Regions from separate parts of the Homo sapiens genome. Here all the other regions are linked to region 1. The links are contacts of gene promoters, found by promoter capture Hi-C in blood cells and fetal thymus (Javierre and others, 2016). All regions are on one chromosome and are shown on one strand. Each heading gives the region's core, a stretch centred on a gene start or on the middle of the fragment in contact. The rest is flanking DNA. Distances are from core to core; before and after follow the strand shown. Region 1 holds the start of FAXDC2 (fatty acid hydroxylase domain containing 2). Region 2 overlaps CYFIP2 (cytoplasmic FMR1 interacting protein 2). Region 3 has its middle 8.5 kb from the start of MED7.

The links. The method cuts DNA at HindIII sites, captures the fragments that hold promoters and counts their contacts. A CHiCAGO score of 5 or more calls a contact.
Region 2: a contact is called between a fragment that was not itself captured here and the fragment with the promoter of FAXDC2 in region 1, in 1 of 17 cell types (neutrophils). The highest score is 7.1, in neutrophils.
Region 3: a fragment that was not itself captured here is called in contact with the fragment with the promoter of FAXDC2 in region 1 in 1 of 17 cell types (total CD4 T cells); the score reaches 5.4 in total CD4 T cells.

The regions. Positions count from the first base shown.
Region 1 is chr5:154,849,185-154,852,182 of GRCh38, reverse strand. FAXDC2 (fatty acid hydroxylase domain containing 2) reads left to right here and starts at 1,580. Exons shown (of 9, transcript NM_032385.5): 1 at 1,580-1,700. The HindIII fragment of the contact is 21,500 bases long and covers 1-2,998 here.
Region 2 is chr5:157,276,585-157,279,582 of GRCh38, reverse strand. All of the region lies in intron 1 of CYFIP2 (cytoplasmic FMR1 interacting protein 2), which reads right to left. Among named protein-coding and RNA genes, the nearest start is that of CYFIP2, 12 kb to the right of the region's middle. The HindIII fragment of the contact is 2,415 bases long and covers 270-2,684 here.
Region 3 is chr5:157,132,884-157,135,881 of GRCh38, reverse strand. No RefSeq gene overlaps it. Among named protein-coding and RNA genes, the nearest start is that of MED7, 8.5 kb to the left of the region's middle. The HindIII fragment of the contact is 3,920 bases long and covers 1-2,998 here.

The DNA.
Region 1 (2,998 bases), core at 331-2,830:
GGCCAATATGGTGAAACCTCATCTCTACTAAAAAAAAAAAATACAAAAATTAGCCGGGCCTGGCAGCGCACACCTGTAGTCCCAGCTACTCGGGAGGCTGAGGCAGAAGAATCGCTTGAACCCAGGAGGCGGAGGTTGCAGTTAGCTGTGATCATGCCATTGCACTCCAGCCTGGGTGACAGAGCAAGACTCCATCTCAAAAAATAAAAAAAAGAAATCCTCCTGCCTCAGCCTTCCAAAGATTGCTGAGATTACAGGCATGAGCCACTGCACCCGGCATTTTTTATTTTGTTTTGTTTTTTAGAGACAGGGTCCCACTCTGTCACTCAGGTTGGAGTGCAGGGCACAATCATAGCTCACTGCAGCCTCCAACTCCTGGGCTCAAGCCATCCTCCCACCTCAGCCTCCCCAGTAGCTGGGATAACAGACATGTGCCAGTAAGCTCTACTAATTTTTTGTATATGTAGTAGAAATGGGGTTTTGCTACATTGCCCAGGCTGGTCTTGAACTCCTGGCCTCAAGTGATCCTCCCGTCTTGGTCTTCCAAAGTGCTGAGATTATACATGTGAGCCGCCGTGCCCAGCCAAGTTTCTGAGTTTTGTTTATTTTAGAAAGGAGTCTTCCTGTGCTGCCCAGGCTGGTCTCAAATACCTGGGCTCAAGTGATCCTCCAACCTCAGCCTCCCAAATAGTTGGGACTACAGGTGAGCACCACCATGCCTAGCCAATCTCCATGTTTGATTGTTAAGTGGAAAAAGCAAGGTGCACAACAAACATACTATGGTGCTGTTGCTAAAGGAGAAGCACAAGGCCTACACATGTTTCTATTTACAGAGGTAAGCTCTGGAAGGATATACAAAAATCTGGTCACAGAGGTTGTCTCTTGGGAGGAAAAAAAGGGGACTGAGGAGAAATTAAAAAAAGACTTTTCATTGTACATTCTTTTGACCCTATTGTATTTTATATCATTTGCACATTTGCTTATTTAAAAAGTTTTCAGAAATTTAAAAGCAGCTCTTTTTCCAAAGTGCTCCTCACTTCATGTCATGGGTCCTGTATCCTAAGTTCCCCTATTTCAATCACAGTGCAAATTTACCCTCCACAGGCATGCCTTTCCTGCATCTAGACTCACTAGAAATAGCTGATGCATCTCTCCTCCCTTGCCTGCCCTCCACAGGAAAAGAAGCAATGAAAAAAAAGAAAATGAGATCCTCTGGTCTCTGTCACCTTTTTATCAACTTGTACTACCTGCCATTATCTGACACCCACATCTTTTCTTGAATCTGCCTCCTCCTATGGGACAGCGACATTTTCTTAAGTTGCAGATGATGGAGAAAATTTTTTAAAAGAAAAAAAGGGGGCAGGGGGAGGGAAGCCCAGAGTTTGGCCAAATGCACGTTTTTCAAGTTCCTGCTTGAGCTTAGATTCCCTTTCCGCTTTAAGGACATGCCCTCTGGAAAGAAGGGTGTTTTGTTTCCAGCCCACACAGACCCAAACTTTTTTCATCACGTGCCTGGTCCGAGCCAGTACGCAGCTCTGTAATGAGATCACCATGGCCAGCCTCCCACCCGAGCAAAAACAAGGTTAGCCTGCAGCAGAGCCGCAGCAGCAACAGCCACCAAAGCGGGGGCTGAAAGGGAAGAGAACTTAGATTTGACCTGTGCAAGGACCTCAGCAGCTTGGACACAGCCCACTGCAGAGGTAAGTGGGAACTACGGGGGAGGGGTGGTGTTTGCAAAGGTCAGGACATGTCCAGGTTCACTTAAAGTAAGGGCAAAACAACACTCTTCCCACCTCTGCCACCACCCTGTCCTCTCTACTTATGGCAGGGTTAGATTTGCCTCTAAACAGGGTTAGATGGCAGGGTTAGAATTTGTCCTAGGACATTGCTGTAGTGCAGTCGCCTCCTTGTCTCTTACTAATGTCTGTATCCTCTGCCTGTGTTTGTACCATCTACCTCCTCAGTAGTCTAATTTTTCTAGCAATTGACAGGTGATTGTAATGGACAAGTAATTGTTTGACTTTAAAACCATTTGTAAAGGAGCAACTCCTAATTCAGAACTCAAATGAGAGGCAGAACAAACTGGAAGAGACTGTTGGGAAGCAACTGCTGCCTAATTGCTTCTCATCTCTACTCTGCCATCACCAGGAAGGTATGGGGCAAAATACAACAGTTTTAAAGTCTCTGGATAGATGTGTGGGCTATGAGCTAGACAAGTAGGTTGAAACTGTTTTGATGCAACATACTTGGATTTACCAACAGTGGCTCCAGTTGTGAAATCGTTAGTGGCTTGATAGTACCTATGGAAACACTCCACGAAGGTTATTGAGTAAAGGGCATACAGTAAAGTGTGTAGGTGGAGATGAACAATAGAACAGTGGCTTTCAGGACCTTCTGGGGCTTAAGGCAAGCAAGACAAGATGCTGATTTGTGGGTTGCTTCAGTTTCATGTGCAATTCCAATTAAATTTCTTTGAGTGGGATATACAGATTCAATTCAATTTGCTAAAACACAGATGCACTGAGCATCAGCTTCTAACTTTAGTTACGAAAGTAATTAGCACAAGGGAATGGTGCTAAAATGTTCCATAGCAAATGTTGAACACTTTTTGAGGGCAAAAAGCAATGCTTTTGATTCGTGTATCTCTTATTTATTCGGCAAATCTTTCTTGAGTATCTTCTACATGCCAGGCTTGGGCTTGATTCTGTGGATCTCGTGGTAAACAAGACAGGCAGATTCTCGGCCTCATGGACATGCAATCAAGCAGAACAGTAAGCTCAAAGGGTGCAAGTACCATGCAGCAAAAGGAGTGAAGAGAGTATTACTAAAACTGGCCCATGGGAATCATTTTTAACCTTTCCTTTCATGCATTTCATCTTCTGTTTTTGTTTTTTTTGTTTTTTGAGATGGAATCTCGTTCTGTCACCCAGGCTGGAGTACAGTGGCGCGATTTCAGCTCACTGCAACCTCCACCTCCTGGGTTCAAGAGATTCTCCTG
Region 2 (2,998 bases), core at 228-2,727, 2.4 Mb before region 1:
GCTTCTGAGAAGGGGGGGCTTTAGGTGCCCCCCCAGGCAGACATGACTGACAGACCCCAAGCAAGAGGGGGGTGGGTCCCATAAATGCAGGGCGACTGCCAGGAGAACATGGCTTTGGAAATGCAGGTTCTGACATTTACAGCTTAAACCCTGTTTCTCTGTAAGCAAAATACTTGCATTGTCATTATCTGTTTGATTTTTCTGGAAAGAAATGAAATATTAAGACTTTTTACTGAAGTGAAATATTAGGCTAGTGTAGTGGGTAAGCTTGAGTTCTGGGTTTCAATCTGTCATCTGCCACTTATGAGCTATATAAACAATAGCATGTTCCTTAACCTCTCCGAGCCTCAGTTTCCTTACCTTGTAAGGGTGACAATTTACAATAGTGCCTGTCCTCAATGTTTATTTTGATTATATAACTACAGCATGTAGAATACTTAACACAGTAGCCAGCAAAGACATGTCAAAAGACAAAATTACAATAAATTTATAGAATTAATTGTCCTTAATTTGTGATTTATGAATTGAAGCACCTCCTTTCTATACAATAGAATGAAAGCTCCCACTGGGCAATAGCAAAACTGTGGGTTTTGTAAGGTGGGAATAAGAAAACACAACAATAGAAAAATAAATGATTAGTTAACATCAAGTTACTTCAGGTTACTTTTTTGTAAGGATTAAGGCAGAGAGGATTTGCTTATTATGCTGACTCAGGTAGAGAGTGGCATTTAGCATGAGTGACTCCATTTTGATTTGGTCTGGTTTTTAGGGGCCTAGTACAGGAGCTTAGTCTTAAACAATGGCCTCCCATACTTTCGTTTAACATTCGCTAGTCTGTGGCCTGTTTTCAATAGAGAGGATGAATTAAATACTCCAACAATTCTCCTACCAAAAAAAGGAAGGTTTATTATTATTACACTAATATCTCAGTTCTATAGATCTTTCACATTGATTTTCTCAATCACAACTATCCTGCAAATTCAATTCAGCAGGTATAATTTTTGCTGTGTTTCTGAGGACACTGTGTTATGGAGAAGTAAACACTTTTATTCAAGGTCACATGGTCAGCTAGTGGCAGAGGTAGGGTAGAAACAGGATACCTTGACTCCCAATTCTATGCCTTTTCTTCTAGACCACACCTGGTTTTGTACCTTTTTGAAAGGTGCCAAACATATTTTTTTCCCAGTTTGGCTGCTTTTTCCTTCCTCAAGAAGAACACAACTCTGGCAAGCTAGAAAGATTAGGTAATTGTCACCTTTGTGTTTCATGAACATCAAGAGGCCAGGAAATATTTTCCATGTCCGTATGGCGCTCCAGCCAGAGGCTATATAAGTATACGTACACACACACAAACATACTGCACACACATATACATATATATACACATATGTATACATATATTACTACAAAGAAAATATTATATAGATATATAAATATAAAAATAAATAAAAGGGAGATTTAGGTTGTTCCTATTAAAAAAATTTACAGTCATTTGCCTCATAATGATGCTTCAGTCAACAGTGGATCATATATATGATGGTGTTCCCATAAGATTATAATATCATATTTTTACTGTACCTTTTCTATGTTTAGATACACAAATACTTCCCACTGTGTTGCAATTGCCTACAGTATTCAGTACAAGAACATGCCGTACAGGTTTGCAGCCCAGGAGCAATAGGCTATATACCATATAGCCTAGGTGTGTAGTAGGCTATGCCATCCAGGTTTGTGTAAATGCACTCTATGATGTTTTCTTGGCCCCAGAATAAAACCCAAATACTGCTACTTCTTCCTCCCATGCCAGGACAGACATTGCTAATTGGTAATGACTCTATTTTCCACTAAGTCCACAGACAGCTTCAGAATCCTCATGAAATACTGAGCTCCAGGAAGCCACCAGCAATCAATCTGAGTTTGCCCATGAAATAAAACATAACATGCCCTCTCTGGAGTAGAACCATGCATGTGAAAGCTCCTCAAGGTCAGGGACCATTTTCTTACCTATCACTGAAAATGCAGAGACCTTAGCAGAGTGCTGCAAACAGATTAGGCACTGGGGAAGTACTGAATGAAAGAATTCATGAACACACCTCAATCTCCTGACAACATAGGAGAGAGGAGACGACCTGAAGTTGGCCATGTCCTTACTTCTAGTTTTTCCATTCCTTCTCCTTCACTATTAATAACACAGATAAGGCCAGACTCGGTGGCTACACAGATAAGACCGGACTTGGTGGCTACACAGATAAGGCCAGACTCAGTGGCTCATGCCTGTAACCCCAACACTTTGGGAGGCCAAGATGGGCGGATCTCCTGAGGTCAGGAGTTCGAGACCAGCCTGGCCAACATGGTGAAACCTCATCCCTAATAAAAATACAAAAATTAGCTGGGCATAGTGGTGCGCACCTGTAGTCCCAGCTACTCGGGAGGGTGAGGCAGAATTGCTTGAACCTGGGAGGTGGAGGTTGCAGTGAGCTGAGATTGAGCCACTGTACTCCAGCCTGGGTGACGAAGCGAGACTCTGTCACAAAAAAAAAAAAGAAAAAGAGAAAAAACCCATACAGATAATTTAAATCAGCATAGAATACATAGTCATATCCATAAACTGCCAGGATAATTCTTACTTAATATTTTTTTCTAGGGATTCTCTTTTTTGCCACTTTTCATTTTAGAAGGAAGCTTTATATCACAATCACAGAGAGAAAACTAATATTATATGCCATAAACAGAGGAGCCATAAAAAACATAGTAATGAACATAAACACAGGTCTGGGTATTATCTGAAAATCATCCCATGTCCACCACTGATATCCATATGAGAGGCATTTTAGTGTGGAGGTGAACTGGATAGCTTGAGTTAGAATCTTACCTCTGCCAATACCTAGTTGTGTGACCTTGAGTAGGTGACATAACCTTTCTGAGCCTCACTCTCTTCATTTTGGTATAAGGGATAATGATAGTTCCTATCTCTTAGGCTTTGAAAACTCAATGAGTT
Region 3 (2,998 bases), core at 256-2,755, 2.3 Mb before region 1:
TCCTAAAGTGTTCTGATATGAACTCTTGCTATTAGAGTGGAATGAAAAAAAAGCTCTAGTGGCCTTATATAAGGTCTTTTTAATCTTGTGTTAAAATATATCTCTGCACACCTACTTATAATGAATATTCTTGAAAGATTGATTCATTGAAGTGAAATATCTGGAAGGATCACCTTTTTAAGCAGCTTTTGAAATGACTAATGCCCAGGTCCCACACTGCGGAGATTCTGATTTCATTTTTTGGACTGGGGTACTAGCATTGGTTTTAAGAAATCAGAAGATGATTCTCTTGTGCAGTGGTTACAGAATGTTGCATTAATCAGTGCTCTGTTACTGCTGACAAAAACCCTACTTGAACTAATTTAAGCAAAAAGATGAATTTATATAAAGGATATGGGGTATGGGCTGGGTACGGTGGCTCACACTTATAATCCTAGTGCTTTGGGAGGTTGATGTGAGAGGATCACTTGAGCTCAGGAATTTGAGACCAATGGGGGCAACATAGTGAGACCTTCTCTCTCTTACAATTTAATTAAAAAAAGAAAGGATATGGGATATGTTGATTGAAGGATAAGTTGAATATATAAACCATGAGAAGGTCAGAAAGTGGATGAAGTTTTAAGTTAGTAGCCCTGGAGACCATCTTTCCTGTTAGCTTCATTCTCTTTACAGATGAACTTCTTTAATGATGTAGGTGGAGAACATGGCAGCTGACAGTTCCTAAGGGTTAAGTATTTCTATGTTTACCACTGTCTGGGAGTTCCCTCTCAAATGCAAACTTAAAAAAAATGAGGGGAGGTTAATTAACGAGCTAGACATGAGGAATTAGGGGTTGTATACTTGATTGCAACTGGGCAAATCAACTGGGACTTGGATCCCATAAGAATTTCACAGTCCCCGCTATGTCTATTTATGGAAGAGTCAGTCTGTCTCTCAGAGGAAGGAAGCGGTGCTGAGCTAACGATAACGAGAGATCTACTACAAATCAGGCACATGTGAACTTAATATAAATAACAAACATAAACGGATTGTACAAATTTGTATTCCCTTTATGAGAGTAGTTTTTCCCCAGCTATTCATTTATTCATGATATTCATTTGATGAATACTTACTGTGGTCTGCACTCTGCCTGATACTAGTTTAACTGTTGGATGTGTGGGAAGGGCGAAGGAAAATGTAAGAAAGATAATAAGACGAGTTAATTTTTGAAGGTGATAAGTTTGTGTCTTAACCACTCAGCCATTACAGCACCTTCAGAAGAATCTTGCTTCCAGTTATGTTCCTATTGCCTGTTCAAAGCACCTTGTCCACATTATCTTCCCTTTTCAAGGAATGTGTACATTTTTTTTTGTCTTTTAAAACTTTTTTTTTTTTTTTGAGATGGAGTCTCACTCTGTCACCAGGCTGGAGTGCAGTGGCGCAATCTTGGCTCACTGCAACCTGCAACTCCCTGGTTCAAGTGATTCTCCTGCCTCAGCCTCCCGAGTAGCTGGGACTACAGGCGTGCACCACCATGCCCAGCTAAGTTTTGTATTTTTAGTAGAGAAGAGGTTTCACCATGTTGACCAGGATGGCCTCGATCTCCTGACCTCGTGATCCACCTGCCTTGGCCTCCCAAAGTGCTGGGATTACAGGCGTGAGCCACCATGCCCGGCCTAAAACTTTTTTTTTCTTTTTAAGTAGAGATGAGGTCTCACTATGTTGCCCAGGTTGGTTTCAAACTCCTGAGCTCAAGTAATCCTCCAGCCTCCCGAAGTGCTGGGATTACAGGTGTGAGCCACCATGCCTAACCTCACATTTGTTAAGGAATTTAGAAGGCAACTTTGCTAGGCACGGTGACTCACACTTGTGATCCCATCACTGAGAAACTGAGGCAGGAGTATCACTTGAGTCCACGAGTTCGAGACCAGCCTGGGCAACATAGGGAGACCCCATCTCTACAAAAATATTTAAAAATTCGCTGGATGTGATGGCACATGACGGGTTCCAGCCATTCCAGAGGCTGAAGTAGAAGGGACACTGGAGTCCAGGAGGTCAAGGCTGCAGTGAGCCACAGTCATGCCACTGCACTCCAGCTTGAGTGACAGAGTGAGACCATGTCTCAAAAACATAAAGAAAGGCAGCTTCAACTCATGCACTGAGCCCTGAGGTTACTGGGAACGGCAGGTGCAAATATCTCATGAGGAGATAGAAAGTTGGCATAATTTGGATGAGAAAGGCTACTATGGCTGCAATATGGTGAGGGAGGAGGTTGGAGCTTCAGAAGCAGGTGGAGGACAGATGTGCATGATTTAGAGAACCAAGGGAAGGAATTGGGTTTTTATCTGAAATCTGATGAGAAATTATGTTTGCAATTGATTTCTCATCAGATTTTACTAAAATACAGAGAATCAGTAGGAAGGGTACTAGCTGTACTCTGATAGATTTCTAAGTACTGCAAATGGTGCTAAGTGCTTTGTAGCTGTTCTCTTATTTAATCCTTAGAACAATCCTGTGAAGAACCTTCTAAATCTGATGGTATTTATGGCTGTAAGTTGCTGGCAATGTTTTAATCTCTTTGTATAAATAAAGTCATTTTAGCCTTACAACTACTGAATGAAATCAGTATTCTTTTTACACTCATATTTCAGATGTGGAAGTGGAGGCTCAGAGAAGTTATGTAATTTACCCAAGGTTAACTGACTAGTGGGTGGCAAAGCCAGGATGGAAACTAGGCATTCTAGTTTTCCAAGCCTGAACACTCAACCTTCATACTTCATTGCCTCTCCATTCCCTCATGTTGTTACTAAGTCACGTAGGTAAGTAAGTAGCGAAACCAAGAGTGGAGCCAATATTTTGACCCTAAAATCCATGCTTGCAAATACTACTTGATACTGGGCTGAACAGATTTATAGATGGAAACTATGAGTTCCCTTTGAACATATTAAGGTGCTTATGTCTTAGCTTAGACTTCTATGAGTATCTTAAGGAGATTCTGTGCTTATAATTCTAATCTTCC